Regions from separate parts of the Homo sapiens genome. Here region 1 is linked to region 2. Evidence: promoter capture Hi-C in 16 types of primary human blood cells and fetal thymus (Javierre and others, 2016). All regions are on one chromosome and are shown on one strand. The core of a region is centred on a gene start or on the middle of the fragment in contact, and the rest is flanking DNA. Distances in the headings are between cores, read along the strand shown. Region 1 has its middle 40 kb from the start of LINC01646. Region 2 holds the start of C1orf174 (chromosome 1 open reading frame 174).

Region 1 (4,039 bases), core at 292-2,791, 710 kb after region 2:
TTAGCACACACAGGGAAGAGTAAGGGATGCATAGAGGGTGAGCTGAGAACCAACCAGGCAAGTCTTCAACTCCATCTTCAGTTCTACCCCGACCCTCCTTGTGACCTTAGGCCAGGCTGTAACCACTTTGGGCCTTTTGTCCTTTTAAACCTGTAGCGATGAAGCATGGTTTGGTAGAAATGAAAAAGCATGAGTTTTAGAACCAAACAGAATCACATTGAAACACTACCCAGTCGTGTGATCTTGGGAAAGTTTTTTTTAACTACTCTAAACCTAGTTCCTGAGCTGAAATAGACAGATACTATGTTCCTCATTGGGTTGTTATGAAAATTGGGAAAAGACACCTGAAAATGTATAGTCTAAACCCTGGCACATAAGCACTCAAAAACAGTGCTCTCTCCTCCTTTCCTGACTGGGACCAAGAACTAAACAACAGAAGTGAGTAGGTCAAGTTCAGCTCCACCCTTTGAAAAGTGATTTCATGGTCTTAGCAGTAAGGAGCTAAATATTTGCTTCTTCATCAATAGGAATTCAATGTTTATAAACTTTGGTAATTTAGATTGAAGGGATATGTAGTACATTAAAATGTCACTCAGAAATAATTTATATTCCCCAATCCATTAATATGAGGCATTGAAATGTCTAATTTTAAATGCTGCCCTCTAAATGCAGCCTTTGATGATCAAACTGGCCAGGCAGGATCAAGCCATCTGTGAATTCCTGCAGTGGCTTTTCTGTAGTAAGCTGAATTGTAGTTATGTAGCTTGCATCTCTCTTTTTCCAGCAGTACTTGAGCACTTCAAAAGGGGGCTAAATATTTGGCTATTTGAGCTGTGAGGGAGCCTGGGGAGGGGTCTGGGATGTGTTCACTGAGTGGTTGAGGTACAGATTTTTCTGCACTGACATGCACATTTCGTACTCCTGCCCAGCCAGATGTGTTCCCTTGCTTGTTGTGGAGGCTGTGTCCATTAGGAATCCACTGGTCACAATTCACCATGACCCACTTTAAACTGGCTGAAGCAAGGCAGGGCATTTGGAAGCCCAGTTAACTCCACTGTCTGGTCCAGGGGTGGGAAAGCCTCAACACCCACAGCCCAGTTATACTTCTTGATGAGTTCCCTAAATGCAGTAACAACATAACTCAATTGTTTGGCTTGAAACAACAGGTGTTGTCTCACAGTTCTGGAAGCCTGAGATCTGAAGTCAAATTGTGGGCAGGCCCATCCCTCCTCCAAAGGCCCTGGGGATGGCTCCCTCTGAGTCTCTCTCATAGCTTCTCATGGCTCCTGGCAATCTTTCTTGTTCCTTGGCTTGTGGCTGTATTGCTCCCATCTCTGCCTCATTCTTCACATGGCCGTCTTTACAGTGAGCCTCTTTGAGGTTCTTTTTATTCTCATAAGGACTCCAGTCATATTGCACATATAGCTCACCCTATTCTAGTATGACCTCATTTTTTTGGAGACAGGGTCTTTCTGTGTTACCCAGGCTGTTGTGCAGTGGCAAGGTCTTGGCTCACTGCAGCTTCGACACCCTAGGCTCAAGCAATCCTCCCACCTCGGCCTCCCGTGTAGCTAGGACCACAGGTGTGTGCCACCATAGCTTTTTTTTAAATTATTATTGTTTGTAGAGATGATGTCTCACTATGTTGCCCAAGCTGGTCCCAATCTCCTGAGCTCAAGCAATTCTTTTGTCTTGGCCTCCCAAAGTGCTGGGATTACAGGTGTGAGCCACTGCCCCGGCTGACCTTGTCTTAACTAATGACCTCTGCAAAGACCTCACATTCTAGGTTCCAGGTAGGCATGGATTTCAGGCCCCACAATTTGACTCATGCCCCACTCCACCTGATTGCGCTTGACCGCTTCTTCCTGCTTTCAGGTCTCATTCTGAGGCTGACTCTCCTTTCACCAGTGCTAATGACTATCGACCCCCTGGGCCAGTGCTCTTCTCTTCCCCTGCCCATCCTGTGGGAGAGACTGAGCTCTGGTCTGTCTCACCCCTCCCAGAAGGTGGTGAGAGGTCCCTCGAGTGGAGCCAACATAGGCCATGTGCCCTCCTGTGCATGGATCCCTGGGGCCAGGGCCACAGCCATGGGAAATGCTGATCAGCTGAAACCAGGAAGGCCCCCAGGCTCCTCGAGAGAGAATGAAGTGGGGGTCCCCAAAGGAGATGTGGGTGCCCTTTCCCTAAAGGAGGAGGGAAGATGGTGCCTGCTACAGAGAGGGAGAGAGTCACTGTTAGAAATACCATGACAGGAGAATACGCGTCATCCAGCTGCCGGGGCTGAGGCAGCCCCACACTCGGCCTCCCTGTGCAGCTGACAATACCCCAAGTCCAACGGTGCTTAAAAACGCTGAATAATTTAAATGGCAATTCCGGGGAGCGCTGCCAGCAGAGACAATCAAATGACACTCCATGTCCCGCCCACTGCCCCCTCCCGGCCTTGCCCTCAGCGTCTAATCAGGGACCGGGTTTTGTCTTTCTGCAGGCCCAAGGCGGGTCTCCTGTTATCTGCTCAGCTTTGTTCCCGATCACAATCTGTAGCACTTTCCTCCATTTTCCCAACAAATAAAACTGGAGGCAATGACCTGTCATTTCCCCAGCATTCAATTAGAAGGGAAAGCAGTGGTGGGAGGTGGGCAATCTCCTCCCGCTCCTCCACACAAATGTGCCCTGGATCCCTTCAGCCAGCCACAGTGGCTCTCCTGCAAGGACACAGTGAGTGAGAAACCAGAGACGGTTCCCAGGGTCACCCGGGCACAGGCCTGATGGGGTCCATGATAAGACAGACATGGAGTCCAGGCGGCCTGCGGCCTGGGTTCAGGTAGGAGGCTGCCCCTCCCCGTGCCTCTCCTGCTTCCTCTCCCTCCCCTCCTCGCCACCCCGCCTCCTCTCCCCTTTTCTGTTAATCTCTCTGTAGGATCGGTACACCATGACAGCCGCCTTGACTACCAAGGTCAGAATCTTCTCAGCAGAGCCTGGTGCTCCTGGGCATTCCTGGGCTGCCAGGGTGTGTATGCTTTTCAGAAACAGTCAGGAGCACACCTCCGTCCAGAAGCCCATATCAGGAAGGCTTCCCCTGAGGATGCAAAGGGCTCCTGGGCTGATGTCTCTTTCTTTTCTGAGGGTTCAGTACGATGATCCCATCCCCTAGACACACCATCACCATCAGAGAAGCTTGCAGAGTCCAGGGATGGGGTTGGGGTCTCTCCTGGGAGGGTCTTTCCCTGTGCCTCCTGCCCCACCAGCCCCACAAAGGATTGTGGGGCTCCATGGCATCTACACAGGCCCTGGTTATCCGCAGGACTCTAGAACATGGACTAGTCCACGTGCTAGTGGCTTTCATTCCGACTTCTTTACACCTTCATCCTCCCGAAGGATTCTCCTATAAATTGATAGAAAGATAATGTTAAACCCAGGCACCTGAGGGAAGGGGAAAATATGCTAAACGGAAACACACAAATTGTCAGGTGCCCAAGTGGAGGCAGTAAATTCACAGTTTCGCTGTAAATCGGGTCTGTGCTTTGCACTTTACATGTAATTGTTAAATTGCTCTAAAAATAAGTAACCGATAAAATGAATAATGATCCAATTTGCCTCATCCACGACTCGGTTTGAACCGAGTGCTGACACAGACACCATCGCTTTTACACTCACCATTTGGCAGCAGCAGAGAAAAGGCTTTTATTCCACTAAGTTTGCGATCCACTTAAACAGTAGAGTAGTTAGATTCTGAAGTCAGCCTGAGACTCTCAGAATTCACATCCAGCCCTTGGCACTGGGCCCATCAGATCTTCTGGGCAGAGCCTGCAGCCTCAGAAGACCTCCCTGCTCAGGGGCTCTGTCCTCAGGCTAAGCCCTGCTTGGTCCCGTCCCTTGTTACCATGAGCCTTGCTTTGAATTAGTCTTTCCTTGTTCATATACCATGTGTTTCCTTTACACTGATTGGGCCCTGACAGAAACACCAAATTATCTGGACGCAGGAGAAAAACCCCCAGACAAACTTTTTATTGGCAGGCTTTGCAACATCACATCCTTCCAG
Region 2 (4,441 bases), core at 1,146-3,645:
ATGGTATCAATCTCCTGACCTTGTGATCCGCCTGCCTCAGCCTCCCAAAGTGCTGGGATTACAGGCGTGAGCCACCGTGCCTGGCCCCATATCCAGGAATCTTAATGAACAGAACTCCAAATAGGATACATGCAAAGAGATCCACAGACACATCACTGTAAAAATACAAAGATCAAAGGCAAAATCTTGAAAGAGAACAAAACCTTGAAAGCCCCAAGAAGAAAGCCACTTAGAAGGGAACCTCAATAAATGAACTGACTGAAACAATGGAGAATATTCAAACATATTCAACATGCTCAAATAAACTTGTCAACCAAGAATCCTATATCCAGCAAAGCTATACTTCAAAAATGGGCTGGGCATGGTGGCTCATGCCTGTAATCCCACCACTTTGGGAGGCTGAGGCAGTGATCACCTGAGGTCAGGAGTTTTAGACCAGCCTCGCCAACATGGTGAAAACCTGTCTCCAGTAAAAACACAAAAATTAGCCGGGCGTAGTGGCAGCCTCCTGTAATCCCAGCCATTCCAGAGGCTGAGGTGAGAATCACTTGAACCCGGGAGGCAGAGGTTGCAGTGGGCCGAGATCACACCTCTGCACTCCAGCCTGGGCAACAGAGTGAGACTCTGGTCTCAAAGCAAAAACAACAACAACAACAACAACAACAACAACAACAACAAAACTCACTTTACAAGAAACACTAAAAGAAGTTCATCAGGCTGAAAGCAAGTGACCCCAGACAGTAATTCAAAACCACACACACACAAAAACAGCACCAGTAAAGGTAATTATGTTCTTATATAGTTTAAATGCCTATTCCTCTACCTCCTTCTCTTAATTTAAAAAGCAATTGTATACAGTAATATGTGTATAATATATACAGACATGTACTATATTTGCCAATAACAAAACAAAGTGGGTGAAAGCAAACCCCTGCTGGCTAAGGAAATGACCACAGACAGAAAGTAATAATGATAACACAGTACTGTTGAGTTTGTAACATTATCAGATGTAATACATATAACAAAATACCACAAAAATAACCATATAAGAGTAACATTTCTGTATCACTTGGAATTAACCTAGTACAAATCTGAAGCTTAAGATGTATATGGAGAATATGAAGATTAAGCTGTATACGGTAAAACATAAAGCACTGGAAAAAACCCAAAAAAGTTGTGGAAAAAAAATCATTAAATTAAAATGCTACATTAGGAAATATTCACTTTAATCCACTTAAAGAAGGAACAGGGGAAGAAAAAGACAGACTTGTATAAAGAAAAGAAAAAGTAAAATGGCAAATGTAAACCTAACTACAGTGTATCAATAATATTAAATGTGCATGGGCTAAACAATTCAATCAAAAGGCAGAAACTACCAGACTGCATTTTAAAAAAGATCCAAGTATATGTGCCTACAGGAGACAAGTTTTGGTTCAAAGATAAAAATAGTAAAAGGAGTTGGAATTCACAAGTGGCCACTCCATTTGAACAAACCAGGAGAGCCTCCATGCAGCTCAGAGCCTCCCAAGTGGACCGGGACCCGCGCCGGGTCCACTGTGAAAAGGGTCCTTCGCCTTAACTGTTACACCCACGCAATGAGCACTTGCCCCTTGCCAGACACTGGCACCCCCCTTCAATCCTCACCACCCTCTTGGTGGATCCCTCATCACCCCACTTTTAGCACATTCAGTAGATGGGGCCAAGCTGAGGTCACTTGCTGTGTGACGTCCATTGGAGTGGCAGCAGTTGAGGGGCACAAACTCAGCTCTGCAGCATCTAGCACTACCAGGAGTTGAAACCAGTTCTGGAGAGGGTGCCCCACCTTCCTAGGAAAGTGGCCCGAAACCTCCCTTCAAGGGGGCGTGACCTGGGAGCCCCCTGTTGCCCAGGACGTGAACTGTGAGCTCCACTTCTCCCGAGGGCGTGGACCGGAGCCCCCCTTCTCCCGCGGGCATGGCCTGGGAGCTCCCCTTCTCTCGGGGGTGTGGCCCAGAGGCCCCATTCTGCGGGGGTGGGTAACCTGGGAGCCCCCTTCTCCCGGGGACGTGACCTGTGAGCTCCACTTCTTCCGAGGGCGTGGCCCGGAGCCCCCTTTTCACAGGGGCGTGACCTGGCAGCCCTCCTTCTCCCGGGAGCGTGGCCTGGAGCCCCCCAACTACTGCCGGGGGCGAGGCCCAAGCGGAGGCCGCTCCTAGGCCACAGGCACCCCGTGACCCCGCCCCGGTTCTCCAGACAGCAGGTGACCCAGAGTCCCCGCCCTGCCCGGCGCAGCTGCTGCCGGGACCCAGCCCTCACCTTCCGGCTCCTCATGAGTGTGAGCACCGCAGCCAAGCACCGCGCGCCCCGGCCAACGCGTCCCGGCGGAGCGGCGACCCGGAGTCTGCAGAGCGCGCCGCGGCGGCGTCCGACGTCAGCACAGCCAATCACAGTGCAGCACCCTCGTCATGTGATTCCCCCCCCCCCCCCCCCCGTGTTGGCTCTTTCGTAAGCGGCGGGCGAAGGTCACAGGCCTTGGGCCAGTGGTGGGACACTGGAGCAGGAAGTCGGCCTGTGGCCGGCCATGTTCATGAGGGCGCGTCCCTTGGCACCCCTGTAGCCGCTATGTTTCCCACGCCCGTGGCAGGCCTGAGAGATTATGTTTGCGGGGGGTGCTTTTTTTGTAGCTTCTGTGTTCGCCATATTTGAAAGGGGCAGACGGCCATGTTCGTGAACGGCGCTTCCCTTGGTGCACCTGTGGCCGCCATGTTTGAGCGAGGTGGGCAACTATGTTCTTGAGGGGGGAGCAACCATGTTCTTGAGGGGCTCTTCCCTTGAAGCCTCTTTGGCCACCATGTTTGAGAGGGGCAGACGGCCATGTTTGTAAGGGGCGCTTCTCTTGGTGCGCCTGTGGCCGCTATGTTTGAGAGGGGCAGGCAACCATGTTCGTGAGGGGCGCTTCCCTTGAAGCCTCTTTGGCGCCATGTATGAGAGGGGCGGACGGCCATGTTTGTGAGGGGCTCTTCCTTTGGTGCGCCTGTGGCCGCCATGTTTGAGAGGGGCGGGCGGGACGTCCGTGAGGGGCCCCTCCCCTTGCATCCCCTGGCTAACAGCCTGCAGGAGGGCGGGAAGTGCTTTCTCCAGTGCCGCAGAGCGCTGGTTTCTGAGTGCCGGTTAGCGGCCTTGAGCAGCGCGAGGGACTCCCAGGCCTGCCCGTGCTGCGGTCCCGCTGGGGAGCTTTGCGCGCTTGTCGCAGGCTGTGCTGCCCCGCGACATGCCGCTTTGGGTTGGGGTGGCCCGCCCGGGAAGTGGCCTCAGCTGTCCCCCACGTTGCGGGCGGGAGGGGGCCTTAGTGGAGGCCGTCGGTGGGCCCAGGAGGCCAGGGTCCGGCGTCGGGCTGGGGGCCGGTTTTCGTCCCCCGTTACGTGCAAGGCGGGAAATGACCCCTCCGCCGTCCCGTTACTCTCCGGGGCCAACGTGGACTCGCAGGGGCCACGCCTTTTCCAATGGCCACGCCCCTAGCAGGCCTGGGTGGACCCGCAGCGGCCACGCCTCCTCCAATGGCCGCGCCCTATCAGGTCTGGATGGACACACGGCGGCCACGCCTCCTCCAGCAAACACGCCCCTAGCAGGCCTGGGCTGCTGTGATGCGTCCTCTTTGGCCGCCGCTGAGGGAGGTGTTTGTAAAGCTGAGGACCACTGTTCTGTTGTGGGTTTTTTTGTTTGTTTGTTTGTTTTTTGAGACGGAGTCTCGCTCTGTCACCCAGGCTGGAGTGCAGTGGCGCGATCTCAGCTCACTGCAACCTCCGCCTCATGGGCTCAAGCCATTCTCCTGCCTCAGCCTCCTGAGTAGCTGGGATTACAGGCAGGCGCCACCACACCTGGCTAATTTTTGTATTTTTAGTAGAGATGGGGTTTCATCATGTTGGTCAGGCTGGTCTCGAACTCCTGACCTCAAATAATCCGCCCACCTTGGCCTCCCAAAGTGCTGGGATTACAGGCGTGAGCCACCGTGCCAGGCCCACTGTTCTTTTCTTTTCTTTTTTTTTTTTGACGGGAGTCTCGCTATGTCGCCCAGGCTGGAGTGGAGTGACGCAATCTCGGCTCACTGCAAGCTCTGCCTCCCGGGTTCACGCCATTCTCCTGCCTCAGCCTCCCGAGTAGCTGGGACTACAGGCTCCCGCCACCACACCCGGCTAATTTTTTTGTATTTTTAGTAGAGACGGGGTTTCACCGTGTTAGCTAGGATGATCTCGATCTCCTGACCTCGTGGTCCGCCTGCTGCGGCCTCCCAAAATGCTGGGATTACAGGCGTGAGCCACCGCGCTCGGCACACTGTTCTGTTCTTAAGAATTTCAACATAGAAATGAAATCCAGCCTTGCCTTAAACCCTCCAGCCCTCAAGTTCTCTGGGCTCTAGGATGTGTGTCTTCAGAAAAGGGCGCAGGGTGGAAGCCACATCAGA

What was found. The method cuts DNA at HindIII sites, captures the fragments that hold promoters and counts their contacts. A CHiCAGO score of 5 or more calls a contact.
Region 1: a contact is called between a fragment that was not itself captured here and the fragment with the promoter of C1orf174 in region 2, in 1 of 17 cell types (erythroblasts). The highest score is 6.3, in erythroblasts.

The regions. Positions count from the first base shown.
Region 1 is chr1:4,609,391-4,613,429 of GRCh38, forward strand. No RefSeq gene overlaps it. Among named protein-coding and RNA genes, the nearest start is that of LINC01646, 40 kb to the left of the region's middle. The HindIII fragment of the contact is 3,261 bases long and covers 1-3,172 here.
Region 2 is chr1:3,897,877-3,902,317 of GRCh38, forward strand. C1orf174 (chromosome 1 open reading frame 174) reads right to left here and starts at 2,396. Exons shown (of 4, transcript NM_207356.3): 1 at 2,296-2,396. The coding sequence starts at 2,310. It overlaps LINC01134 (long intergenic non-protein coding RNA 1134), which reads left to right and starts at 2,528. Exons shown (of 4, transcript NR_024455.1): 1 at 2,528-2,755. RefSeq lists enhancers at 1,488-2,058, 2,059-2,627, 2,628-3,197, 2,837-3,096 and silencers at 2,147-2,216, 3,297-3,476. The HindIII fragment of the contact is 4,148 bases long and covers 1,096-4,441 here.